Linked DNA regions of Homo sapiens: regions 1 and 2 are each linked to region 3. The links are contacts of gene promoters, found by promoter capture Hi-C in human tissues and cell types (Jung and others, 2019). All regions are on one chromosome and are shown on one strand. Each heading gives the region's core, a stretch centred on a gene start or on the middle of the fragment in contact. The rest is flanking DNA. Distances are from core to core; before and after follow the strand shown.

The links. Contacts are between HindIII fragments. The study calls those that stand out against the background at their distance.
Region 1: a fragment that was not itself captured here is called in contact with the fragment with the promoter of MAP1B in region 3 in 1 of the 25 tissues and cell types used here (dorsolateral prefrontal cortex).
Region 2: a fragment that was not itself captured here is called in contact with the fragment with the promoter of MAP1B in region 3 in 1 of the 25 tissues and cell types used here (lymphoblastoid cells).

What each region holds. Positions count from the first base shown.
Region 1 is chr5:71,819,403-71,823,013 of GRCh38, reverse strand. No RefSeq gene overlaps it. Among named protein-coding and RNA genes, the nearest start is that of CARTPT, 100 kb to the right of the region's middle. The HindIII fragment of the contact is 3,769 bases long and covers 1-3,342 here.
Region 2 is chr5:71,683,325-71,687,495 of GRCh38, reverse strand. No RefSeq gene overlaps it. Among named protein-coding and RNA genes, the nearest start is that of CARTPT, 34 kb to the left of the region's middle. The HindIII fragment of the contact is 4,509 bases long and covers 177-4,171 here.
Region 3 is chr5:72,105,571-72,109,341 of GRCh38, reverse strand. It overlaps MAP1B (microtubule associated protein 1B), which reads right to left and starts at 1,867. Exons shown (of 7, transcript NM_005909.5): 1 at 1,627-1,867. The coding sequence starts at 1,810. LOC105379028 (a long non-coding RNA gene) reads left to right here. Exons shown (of 3, transcript XR_007058813.1): 1 at 1-567; 2 at 1,355-1,417. RefSeq lists enhancers at 266-560, 966-1,948. The HindIII fragment of the contact is 7,344 bases long and covers 1-3,270 here.

The DNA.
Region 1 (3,611 bases), core at 209-2,708, 290 kb after region 3:
ACATGGGGGAAAATCTCCAGGACATTAATCTGGGCAAAAATTTATTGAGCACTACCCTACAAGCACAGGTAACCAAAGCAAACATGGACAAATGGGATCACATCAAGTTAAAAAGCTTCTGCAAAGCAAAGGATACAATCAGCAAAGTAAACAGACAACCCACAGAATGGGAGAAAATATTTGCAAACTACCCATCTGACAAGGGATTAATATCCAGAATATATAAGGAGCTCAAACAACTCTATGGAAAAAATCTAATAATCCAATTAAAAATGGGCAAAAGATCTGAATAGAAATTTCTCAAAAGAAGACATATAAATTGTAAACAGGTATTTAAAAAGGTGTTCAACATCATTGATCATCAGAGAAATGCAAATCAAAACTATAATGAGATATCATCTCACCCCAGTTAAAATGGCTTTTATCCAATAGACAGGCAATAACAAATGCTGGTGAGGATGTGAAGAAAAGGGAACCCTTGTACACTGTAGATGTGAATGTAAATTAGTACAAACACTATGGAGAACAATTTGGAGGTTCCTCAAAAAACTAAAAATTGATCTACCATATGATCCAGCAATACCACAGTTGGGTAATGCCCAAAAGAAAGAAAATCAGTACATCAAAGAGATATCTGCACTCCTACATTTGTTGCAGCATTGTTTACAATAGCTAAGATTTGGAAGCAACCTAACTGTCCATCAACAGATGAATGGATAAAGACAATGTGGTACATATACACAATGGAGTACTATTCAGCCAGAAAAAGGATGAGATCCAGTCATTTGCAACAACATGGATGGAGATCATTATGTTAAGTGAAATAAGCCAGGAACAGAAAGACAAACATCACATGTTCTCACTTATTTGTGGGATTTAAAAATTAAAACAATTGAACTCATGGAGATAGAGAGTAGAAGGATGGTTACCAGAGGCTGAGAAGGGTAGTGGGAGGCTGGGGGATACTTGCAGATGTTTAATGGGTGCCAAAAATTAGTTAGAAAGAATGAGACCTACTATTTGATAGCACAACAGAGTGACTAAAATCAATAATAACTTACTTGCACATTTTTAAATAACTCAAAGCATGTAATTGTATTGTTTGTAACTCAAAGGATAAATGCTTAAGGGGATGAATACCCCATTCTCCATGATGTGCTTATTTCACGTTGCATGCCTGTATCAAAACATCACATATGCCCCTAAATATATATTCCCACTATGTACCCACAAAAATTAAAATGTTTTAAAAAATGAATCAAAGACATAAATGTAAGTCCCAAAAATATAAAACTACTAGAAGAAAACAGGGAAAACACTTCAGGACATTGGTTTGGGCAAAGATTTTATGAATAAGACCTCAAAAGCATGGCAATAAAAGCAAAAATAAACAAATGGGATTATATCAAACTAAAAAGCTTCTGCACAATGACAGGAACAATCGACAGAGTGAAAAAACAACCTAAAGAATGGGAGAAATTATGTGCAAACTGTGCATCCAACAGATGATTAATATCCACAATATACAAGGAGCTCAAACAACTCAACAACAACAACAAAAATCTGATTTTAAAATGGGCAAATGATCTGAGTAGACATTTCTCAAAAGAAGACATACAAATGGCCAACAAATATATATAAAAGTGCTCAACATCACTAATCATCAGGGAAATGCAAGTGAAAACTGCAAAGAGGTATGATCTCACCCCAGTTAAGATGGCTATAATCAAAAAGAGAAAAAATAACAAGTGCTGGTGAAGAAACAAGGAAAAGAGAACTCTTACACATTGTTAGTGGGAATGTAAATTAGTACAGCCACAGGGAGGACAGTATAGAGGTCCCTTTAAAAAAAACTACAAATAGAACTACCATATAATCTAACAATCCCACTATTGGGCATTTAGCCAAAGGAAGGGAAATCAGAATATCGAAGAGACTTCTGTGTTTACTGCAGCACTATTCACAGTAGCCAAGATATGGAATCAACCTAGGTGTCCAACAACTGACGATACAGAAAATGTGGTGTATATACACATGGAATACTATTCAGCCACAAAAAAAAAGAGAGTGAAATCCTGTCATTTACAGCAACATGGATAGAGCTGGAAGACATTAAGTGAAATAAGCCAGGAAAGGCAAGAAACATCGCATGTCCTCACTCACATGTGGAAGCTGAAAACGTTGATTTCATAGAAGTAAAAGTAGACCAGAGGATACCAGAGGCTGGGAAGGGGAAGGGGAAAGGGAAAGGGATAGGGTGATTTTTTTTTTTAAAGGATACAAAATTTACATCTAGATAGCTGAATAAGTTCTAAAGTTCAATAACTCCGCAAAATGACTGTAGTTAACCATAATATATTATATACTTTCAAATAGCTGGAAGGAAGAATGTTCCCAACACAAAGAAATGACAAATGTTTGTGATCGTGGATATGCTAATTACCCTAATCTGATCAGTATACATTATATGTATTGAAACAGCACTAGGTACTCAATAAATATGAACCGTTATTACATGTCAATTAAAAAATAAAAAATCTTCTACACAAATATCAGTGTTTTGTCTATCATTTATTTTATAAATGTTTCCCAATTTCCATTTTGTTTGCAACGTTTTACAACACCAAATATTTCTAATCTTTATGTATTTAAATCTACTGTTCTTCTTCTTTGTTTTCTTCCTTACATAGTCTTTTCTCTTCCTCACCTCAAGATTATATAATATTTATATAATTTTACCTTTTCTTATGGTTTCATATTTATATATGCTTAATTCTTAAACAGTTAAGAATTCATTTTGGAGTAAGTCATAGGATAGGAAAGCTAACTTAATTGTTTCCCAGGTGATTAGTCAGTCACTGAAAAGTCATTCATGGGACTGTCTACCTTTTCCTCTCTAATTTGAAATGGAAACTTTGTTACATACTAACTTTTAAATATATGCATAAGGTCTATTTATAGACTTTGAAGGTTTTCCCACTTTTTTCTTTTTGTCTATCCATCAGTAAAAATATTTAAACCATGTTGACCTTATAAATTTGTTCTGACATCTGGTGGTAATAGATACCCCATGATTCTTATTTTAACATTTGTTATTACTGTTCTCATTGTTTATACTCCCAGATAAACTGGAGGATCATTTTTAGGTTACAAAAATATGTTTGAATTTTGACTGGAACTGTGTAAAAATTTTTTAATTAATTGTGGGAGAATTGCTATCTCTCCAATAGTGATACTCACCATCCAAAAATAGTACCCCATTTGTCTTAGCTGCTCTCAAATGTCTGCAGTTTCCCTTATAAAAATACTTTGGCCCTTGTGAGGTTTTTCTCCCTCCATTTATTTTATATTTTAGATGGCTATTGCAATGGATAAGGAAATTGTTGATTTGGCCATTCTCTTTTTAATTTTATACAGTTTTTCATTGATTTTTTTTTAATTTTTTTCCAGGTGGCCAACTACATAACCCATAAATAATGATAATTTTGTATCTTCTTTTCCAGTATTTGACCTCACATATTTTTTTATGTCTAATTGTTTTTTATAATTTCCAGAATAATGTTGAACAATAATGGTTAGCTTTCTTGCTCCTTTTTAAATTTTCATAGGAA
Region 2 (4,171 bases), core at 1,182-3,681, 420 kb after region 3:
TTGAATATCTGGTAGAATTCTGCTGTGAATCCTTCTGGTTCCAGACTTTTTTTGTTGGTAGTTTTTAAATTATCATTTCAGTCTCGCTGCTTGTTATTGGTCATTCAGGGTATCTAATTCTTCCTATTTAAGCTAGGAGGGTTGTGTATTTCCAGGAATGTATACATCTCTTCTACGTTTTCTAGTTTATGTGTGTAAAGGTGTTCATAGGAGCCTTGAATTATCTTTTGTATTTCTGTGGTGTCAGTTGTAATATCTCCCGTTTTGTTTCTTTTTGAGGTTTTTTGGATTTTCTCTCTTCTTTTCTTGGTTAATCTTGCTAACGTTCTATAATTTTATTTATCTTTTCAAAGAACCAGGTTTTTGTTTCATTTATCCTTTGTATTGTTTCTTGTTTCAATTTCATTTAGTTCTGCTCCGATCTTGGTTATTTCCTTTCTTCTGCTGGGTTTGGGTTTGGTTTGTTCTTGATTCTCTTGTTCCTTGAGATATAACCTCCAATTGTCACTTTGTGTTCCTTCAGTCTTTTTGATGTAGGCATTTAAGGTTATGAACTTTCCTCTTAGAACCGCCTTTGCTGTATCCCAGAGGTTTGGATAGGCTGTGTCACTATTGTCATTCAGTTCAAACAATTTTTTAATTTCCATCTTGATTTCGGTTTTGACCCAGTGATCATTCAAGAGCAAGTTATTTAATTTCCATGTATTTGCATGGTTTTGAAGGTTCCTTTTGGAGTTGATTTCCAGTTTTATTCCATTATAGTCTGAGAGAGTGCTTGATATCATTTCAATTTCTTAAATTTATTGAGGCTCATTTTATGGCCTATCATATGGTCTATTTTGGAGAAAGTTCCATGCACTGTTGAATAGAATGTGTACTCTGTGGTTGTTGGATGGAATGTTCTGTATATATCTGTTAAGTCCATTTGCTCAAAGGTATAGTTTAAATTCATTGTTTCTTTGTTGACTTTCTGTCTTGATGGCCTGTCTAGTGCTATCAGTGGAGTATTGAAGTCCCCCACTATTATCGTGTTGCTGTCTATCTCATTTCTTAGGTCTATTAGTAATTGTTTTATAAATTTGGGAGCTCCAGTGTTAGGTGCATATATGTTTAGGATTGTGATATTTTGCTGTTGGAAATATTATATAGTGACCCTCTTTGACTTTTTTAAATGCTGTTGCTTTAAAGTTTGTTTTGTCTGATATAAGAATAGCTACTCCTGCTCGCTTTCAGTGTCCATTGCATGAAATGCCTTTTTCCACCCCTTCACCTCAAGTTTATGTGAGTCCTTATGTGTTAGGTGAGTCTCTTGAAAGCAGCAGATAGTTGGTTGGTGAATTCTTATCCATTCTGCAGTTCTGCATCTTTTAAGTGGAGCATTTAGGCCATTCGCATTCAAAGTTAGTGTTGAAATGTGAGACACCATTCCATTCATCATGTTATTTGTTGCCTGTGTATCTTGGTTTTTTGTTTTTGTTTTTCAAATCATAGTTTTGTTTTATAGGTCCTGTGAGATTTATGCTTTAAATAGGTTCTGTTTTGATGTGTTTCCAGGATTTCTTTCAAGATTTAGAGCTCTTTTAGCAGTTCTTGTAGTGGTGGCTTGGTAGTAGCGAATTCTCTCAGCATTTGTCTGAAAAAGACTGTATCTTTCCCTCGTATAAGATGCTTAGTTTTGCTGGATACAAAATTTTTTGCTGGTAATTGTTTTGCTTGAGGAGCCTGAAGATAGGGCCCCAATCCCTTCTAGCTTGTAGGATTTCTGCTAAGAAATCTGCTGTTAATCTGATAGGTTTTCCTTTATAGGTTACCTTGTGCTTTTTTCTCACAGCTCTTAAGATTCTTTCCTTCATCTTAACTTTGGATAACCTGATGACAATGTGCCTAGGCAATGATCTTTTTGCAGTGAATTTCCCGTGTGTTCTTTGTGCTTCTTGTATTTGGATGTCTAGGTCTCTAGCAAGGCTGGGGAAGTTTTCCTCAATTATTCCCCTAAATATGTTTTCCAAACTTTTAGATTTCTCTTCTTCCTCAGGAACACCAATTATTCTTAGGTTTGGTCATTTAACATCCCAGACTTCTTGAAGGCTGTATTCATATTTTCTTATTCTTTCTTTTTTGTCTTTGTTGGATTGGGTTAATTCGAAGACCTTGTCTTCAAGCTCTGGATTTCTTTCTTCTAATTGTTCAATTCTATTGCTGAGACTTTCCAGAGTATTTTGCATTGCTATAAGTGTCTCCAATGTTTCCTGAAGTTTTTGTTGTTTTTTCTTTATGCTGTCTATTTCCCTGAATATTTCTCCCTTCACTTCTTATATCATTTTTTGGATTTCCTTGCATTGGGCTTCGTCTTTCTCTGGTGCCTCCATGATTAGCTTAATAACTAACCCCTGAATTCTTTTTCAGGGAAATCAGGAATTTCTTCTTGGTTTGGATCCATTGCTGGTGAGCTAGTGTGATTTTGGGGGAGTATTAAAGAGCCTTGTTTTGTCATATTACCAGAGTTGGTTTTCTGGTTCCTTCTCATTTGGGTAGGCTCTGTCAGAGGGAAGGTCTAGGGATGAAGCCTGTAATTCAGATTCTTTTGTCCCATGGATGTTCACGTGATGTGGTACTCTCTCCCTTTTCCTATCCATGTGGCTTCCTGAGAGCCAAGTTGTAGTGATTGTTATCTTTCTTCTGGATCTAGCCACCCAGCAAGTCTACCAGGCTCCAGGCTGGTACTGGGGGTTGTGTGCACAGAGTCCTGTGATGTGAACCTACTATGGGTCTCTCAGCTGTGGATACCAGCACCTGTTACAGTGAAGGTGGCAGTGGGGTGAAATGGACTCTGTGAGAGTTCTTAGCTTTGGTGGTTTAATGTTCTATTTTTGTGCTGGTTGGCCTCCTGAGGAGAGGTGGTGCTTTGCAGAGAGCATCAGCTGTGGTAGTATGGGGAGGAACCGGTGGTGGGTGGGGCCCTAGAACTCCCAAGAGTACATGACCTTTGTGTTCAGACACCAGGGTGGATAGTGAAGGGCCACCAGGTGTAGGCAGGGCTAGGCATATCTGAGCTCAGACTCTCCTTGGGCAGGTCTTGCTGTGACTATTGTGGGGGATTGGGGTGAGGTTCCCAGGTCAATGTAGTTATATACCTAGGAGGATTATGGATGCCTCTGCTGAGTCACGCAGGTTGTCAGGGAAGTGGGAGAAAGCCGGCAGTCACAGGCCTCACCCAGCTCCCATGCCATCCAAAGGGCTGGTCTCACTCCCACCATGCCCTCTCTAACAGCACTGAGCTTATTTCCAGGCAGTGGGCAAGCAGGGCTGAGAACTTGCCCCAGGCTACCCACCTCCCAGCTGGGAAAGAAAGTAGGTTTCAGTTCTTCCCCCGCCTGTGGAGTCTGCACTCCGGATTCATGCCCTCCCCTGAGATCTGGCCAGGAGGCTTCTTGACCAGTTCAAATTGTTACAAAGTTCAGCTGGAGACTTCCTTCTCCTTGTGGCATTTCCCCTATGCCTCTGACCACCCTCCCAAGGGATCCCTGTGATGCCAGGCAGGAATGGCCTGCTTGAGGACTAGTGAGCTCACAGGGCCTTTCCCACTGCTTCCTCCATCCCTGTATTTTGCTCAGCTCTCTAAATTTCCTCAGCTCTTTGTGAGGTCGAAATCTTCTCCCATAAACTAGACCTTCAGTTTCCCCAGTGAGGGTGTGTGTTTGGGGGCAGATGATCTCCCTTTCCCACTTACACAGCTTGGGCACTCACTGTATTTGGGGTGTCTCCCAGGTCCTGTAGGAGCAATCTGCTTCCTTCAGTGGGTCTGTGGGTCCTCTCAGGTTTCCTGATTTATTCCTGCAGTTGTTCTGGAGCTAAAATTCACAATGCAAGCCTCCACATGCTGCTCTGTCCCTCCAAGTTCGAGCTGCAATCTAGTCCTGCCTCCCGTCCTCCATGATGTAATCCATACTAAAAAAAAATTTTTTTTTTTTGACACAGAGTCTCACTCTGTTCCCCAGGCTGGAGTGCAATCTTGGCTCACTGCAGCCTGCAACTCCTGGGTTCAAGCGATCCTCAACATTTACTGTTAAGCAAATTTTGTTAAGCTATGCATTTTAATACTGTGAAAGGATTGGAAGAAAAAAACCAAATAGCCTGTAACAAACAAATTATGCCTTCTTATTACAATAAT
Region 3 (3,771 bases), core at 618-3,117:
AGATGCTCAAATAAGACATTTCACTACTGAAATATCTCTTGTTCTTGAATTTTTTGGAATAAAATACTATGACTTTCTGCTCACATTTTTTTTCTTTTTTTTTTTTAAGCTAAAAGGGAAAATCAAGTGCTTTAAAGTTAAACAAAAGAACCAGGTCTGCAACTCCAGTCCCCACCCTGCAGCCTTTTGTTCTGGGGACAAGTGGCCGTTTCCAACTGCAGAGGCAGATGACAAGCATTTATTTTTTCATCTAAAACAAGGTTTTTCTTTCGTCTTTTATTGGGGAGGGGGAGTGGGGAACGAGGGCTGCGTGAACGCCCTTTGTCCGCCTCGGGCTGCCGTAGAGACCGCAGTGCGGACTGCACCACGCCCACCAACCGGTGTCTCCCGGAGAAACGCTTCAGCACCACCCCAGGAGAATAGAGCGCGGGCTGGGGCTGCGGAGGGACCCGGCGACCTCTGTCAGGAGCGAGGGGAGGGCCGGGACGCCAGGGATAAAGGGAAAGGCAGAGACCAGAGCTGCCCACCCAGGGACTCCCAGGGCAACAAAGCCAGGCAAACTGAGAGGTGGGGGCGCGCGGCCCCCGCCAGCCCGAGGCCCGGGCGGAGCGCAAGCCCAGCCAGCCGTGCCCGACGGGGGCGCCGCAGTGTGGGGGGGCAGGTGTGGCGGGCGGTCCGGAGGCACTGCGGCAGCTCGGGTGGGGCTGGGGGCGGTCTCTCTGTGCGCCCGAGGCTGTGCCCGCCGGACCCTCACGGCCCCGCCCAGGGTCCCCGGCGTACCGCTATTCGGCCTCCGCAGAGCGCGCCACTGGTGCGAGCACCGGGCGAGGAGCTGACCCTACCCGCTGACGTCTCCCTCACCGACCCCCTTCAAGCTACCACTCCCGAGGCTGGGACTTCTAAAAGCAGCAGCCCCACCCCGCAACTTGGGGTCCCATTGTCCTTTCTGAGAGCTGCAGCCAAGGCCCCAAGGGCGGTAGCGAGGCGGGCTCTGTCTGGTGGCGAAGCGCAGGCGGTTCTGCATCCCAGCATCTCCCCGGGGAGGGGGGGGCGGGGGGAGCGGGCGTGGCCCTAGGACTAGCCTAGTCATTCTGAGGAAAGAAAGGATCGGGAGGTTTGAAATCAGAAAAGGCGTTTCTCAGGGGCTGAGGTAGCCGTGGTGAGGATGAATCCCACGCGGGCCCTGGCACATGGGCTTCGGCCCCAGGTCTGCGGTGGTGGGGGTCCCAGCCTTTTCCTGAGGCCAGAAGAGGACTGAAAGGAGTGGTTGCATCAGGTCTCCCCCACCCTTCTGCCTCCTGCGGTTGCGGCTTTATTGTGGCCTCTGCTCCCCTGACACCTGCATTTCACTTAGCGGGAGAGGCGGTGGCCAACTCAGCACAGGCTGCGGACTCAGCGTGGTGACAGATCCCTCAAGGTTATTGGAGACTCTCCCTCTGGGTCTCATATCTAATAATTCGGATTATTCTTAATTAGCCCAGAAAGGGTCTGGACCAAGTATGAGAGGTGACGAGGAGAGGCATGGGTGCGGGGCGCGCGGGAGGAGCGCAGTGACCGTCGCGCCCTGGGTGGGGTCGTGTTTGCGCGTCTCCCAGCGCGCGTCTCTGGGGGCGCGGGGCCACTTACCGAGCTCGATGTTGCCGATGGCACGCCGCAGGTGCTCCTCGGTCACGATCTCGCCGACGACCACCAGCAAGTAGAACTTGCTGTCAAGGAAGCGGTGCGACAGGCTAGGCGAGGTGGACGCCGCCGGGTTGGCGATGCTGCCGGACGGCTCCGGCTCGGTGGCTTCCACCACCACGGTCGCCATCCTGCCGGCTGCTGTGCCTCGGCGAAGTGTCTCGCTCCGGCCGCTCCTCTCCACTGCGGCAGGAGAAAGGATTATCTCCGAAGGTACTGTCTCCGCTCCGCCCCCTGCGTCCCCCCTCCTCTGGCGCCGCGCGCCGCCTCCCCCTCCGCCCTCTCCCAGCGCCGCGGAGAGTGCGCGGCGGAGAGGAGCGGGGAGTGAGAGAGGGCGGGGAGGCGGCGCCGCTTTTATATGGAGACTAGGCAGGGAGCCGGGAGGAGGAGGAAGAGGAGGAGGAAAGGACCACCCGGCACATCCTCACGCGGTGGCTGCCTCCGCTCTTCCAGCCGTTGGCCCGGGGCTGATGTCATCTGCAGCAAATCATCTCGCCCGCGGCCCGGAAGCTGGAGGGACGAGGTGTGCGGACAATGGTCGGGGCAGGGCCGCGAGCCAAGGGGCTGGGGCGCCCGCTGAGCTCCTGCTGCAGCCGTGAAGGGGGAAGACGCTCTCAACCTACACCACCCACCACGTACACACCCACTGCCCACTCCTCACCCTCACCCTGTCTGTGCATGGGAATGGGATGAGTTTCCATTTTCGGAGTGGGGGTCTTTTCTCTTGTTGGAGTTGCACTAGTCAGGCCTCTGCCTTGTGTGCTGTGTATGATGTAGCCAGGTTCTCAGGAACTGGGATAGCCACAGTGGGCAGATGCGGGGCTGTGGGTACCCCGCCTAGGAAGACGGAACCTGTCTTTTCTTTGACCTTGTGGCTTTAAGAAGACGAATTTACTGATATTTACCAATATCAATATTTACCACCTTCACTTAAAGAATACATCAAAAATGCAAAACTTAAGCCTACTATTGTTCAGGCCTTGGATTCTACTCTGGCAGGGCCAAGGATGAAAAAGTACTGGCTTTGTGGTGCTCATGGGAAATGAGAGAAATGCAGATGTATTATATTAGATACCAATTTCTTTCCTTAATGTGCTGAACAGATAGTATCAGTAATAACAAAGAATAAAGAGAAGATACTGTCTCTACTCAGCAGGGTTACAGTGACTATAATGTACTTTTCAGTTCCTTGGGGAACACACAAGCAAAATTACCTCGTGACAATGATGTCTTTTAAAATACCTGTAGCATTGGGAATTTTTATTGCCTTTGTTTGTGTTTAGAAGAACTAAAAAATGTGTTTTTTGTTTTTGTTTTTTTGTTTTTTTTTTTAAGGCAGCCTATTTACAACCGTTTCTCACAAACATACTGAATATAGCTTCTGTCCCAGAAAAGGGGAGGAGGGTGAGGAAAGAGCAAAATGTGCAAACATGGTATCATAGAAGACTGGGGAATTCGAGCTTTAAGGAAGAGGAATAGATGGAAATTAGTCAACATAGCTTTAATACTAGAATGCCTGTTAGTAAAATATAGATGATAGATAGATAGATAGATAGATAGATAGATAGATAGATAGATAATCACCTAGATATTCTTAAGATTTCCAAAATAACCCAGTGTCTTAGGTGTTAGCTGCCATGACTTATTGGTCATGTACTCTTTGCTCTTATATCTTTCCTGACACCCTGGCATGGGAGACATGCTGGGCAGCCAAGGGCTGGGGGGTTCCATCCAACATGTCAATCTGATCAATGCAGAATGAAAATACCGTCTGGCCCGCAGTATTTGGGATCTGTGACAGGATCACTAGAGAGTTGCATTCACCAGTAATTAGATGAAGTGTTTCCAACTAGCTGCATTCACCAGTAACTAGATGAAGTGTTTCCAGATAATATTTTGGTTAAGATATTCAATTGCTGTTCAAGAAGTAAGGCCAGCACCAAAGCCCATAACTGGGGTGAGGGGCAGGAAATATGGTGAAGAGCACTGTTTTCTAAAGGTCATCCGTTGGATTCCAGCCTCATCTAGTTTGTGTTTGGTTTTCCTTTCTTTGAACCATTGTTACTTTTATGTATGTAATAGTTTTCTTTT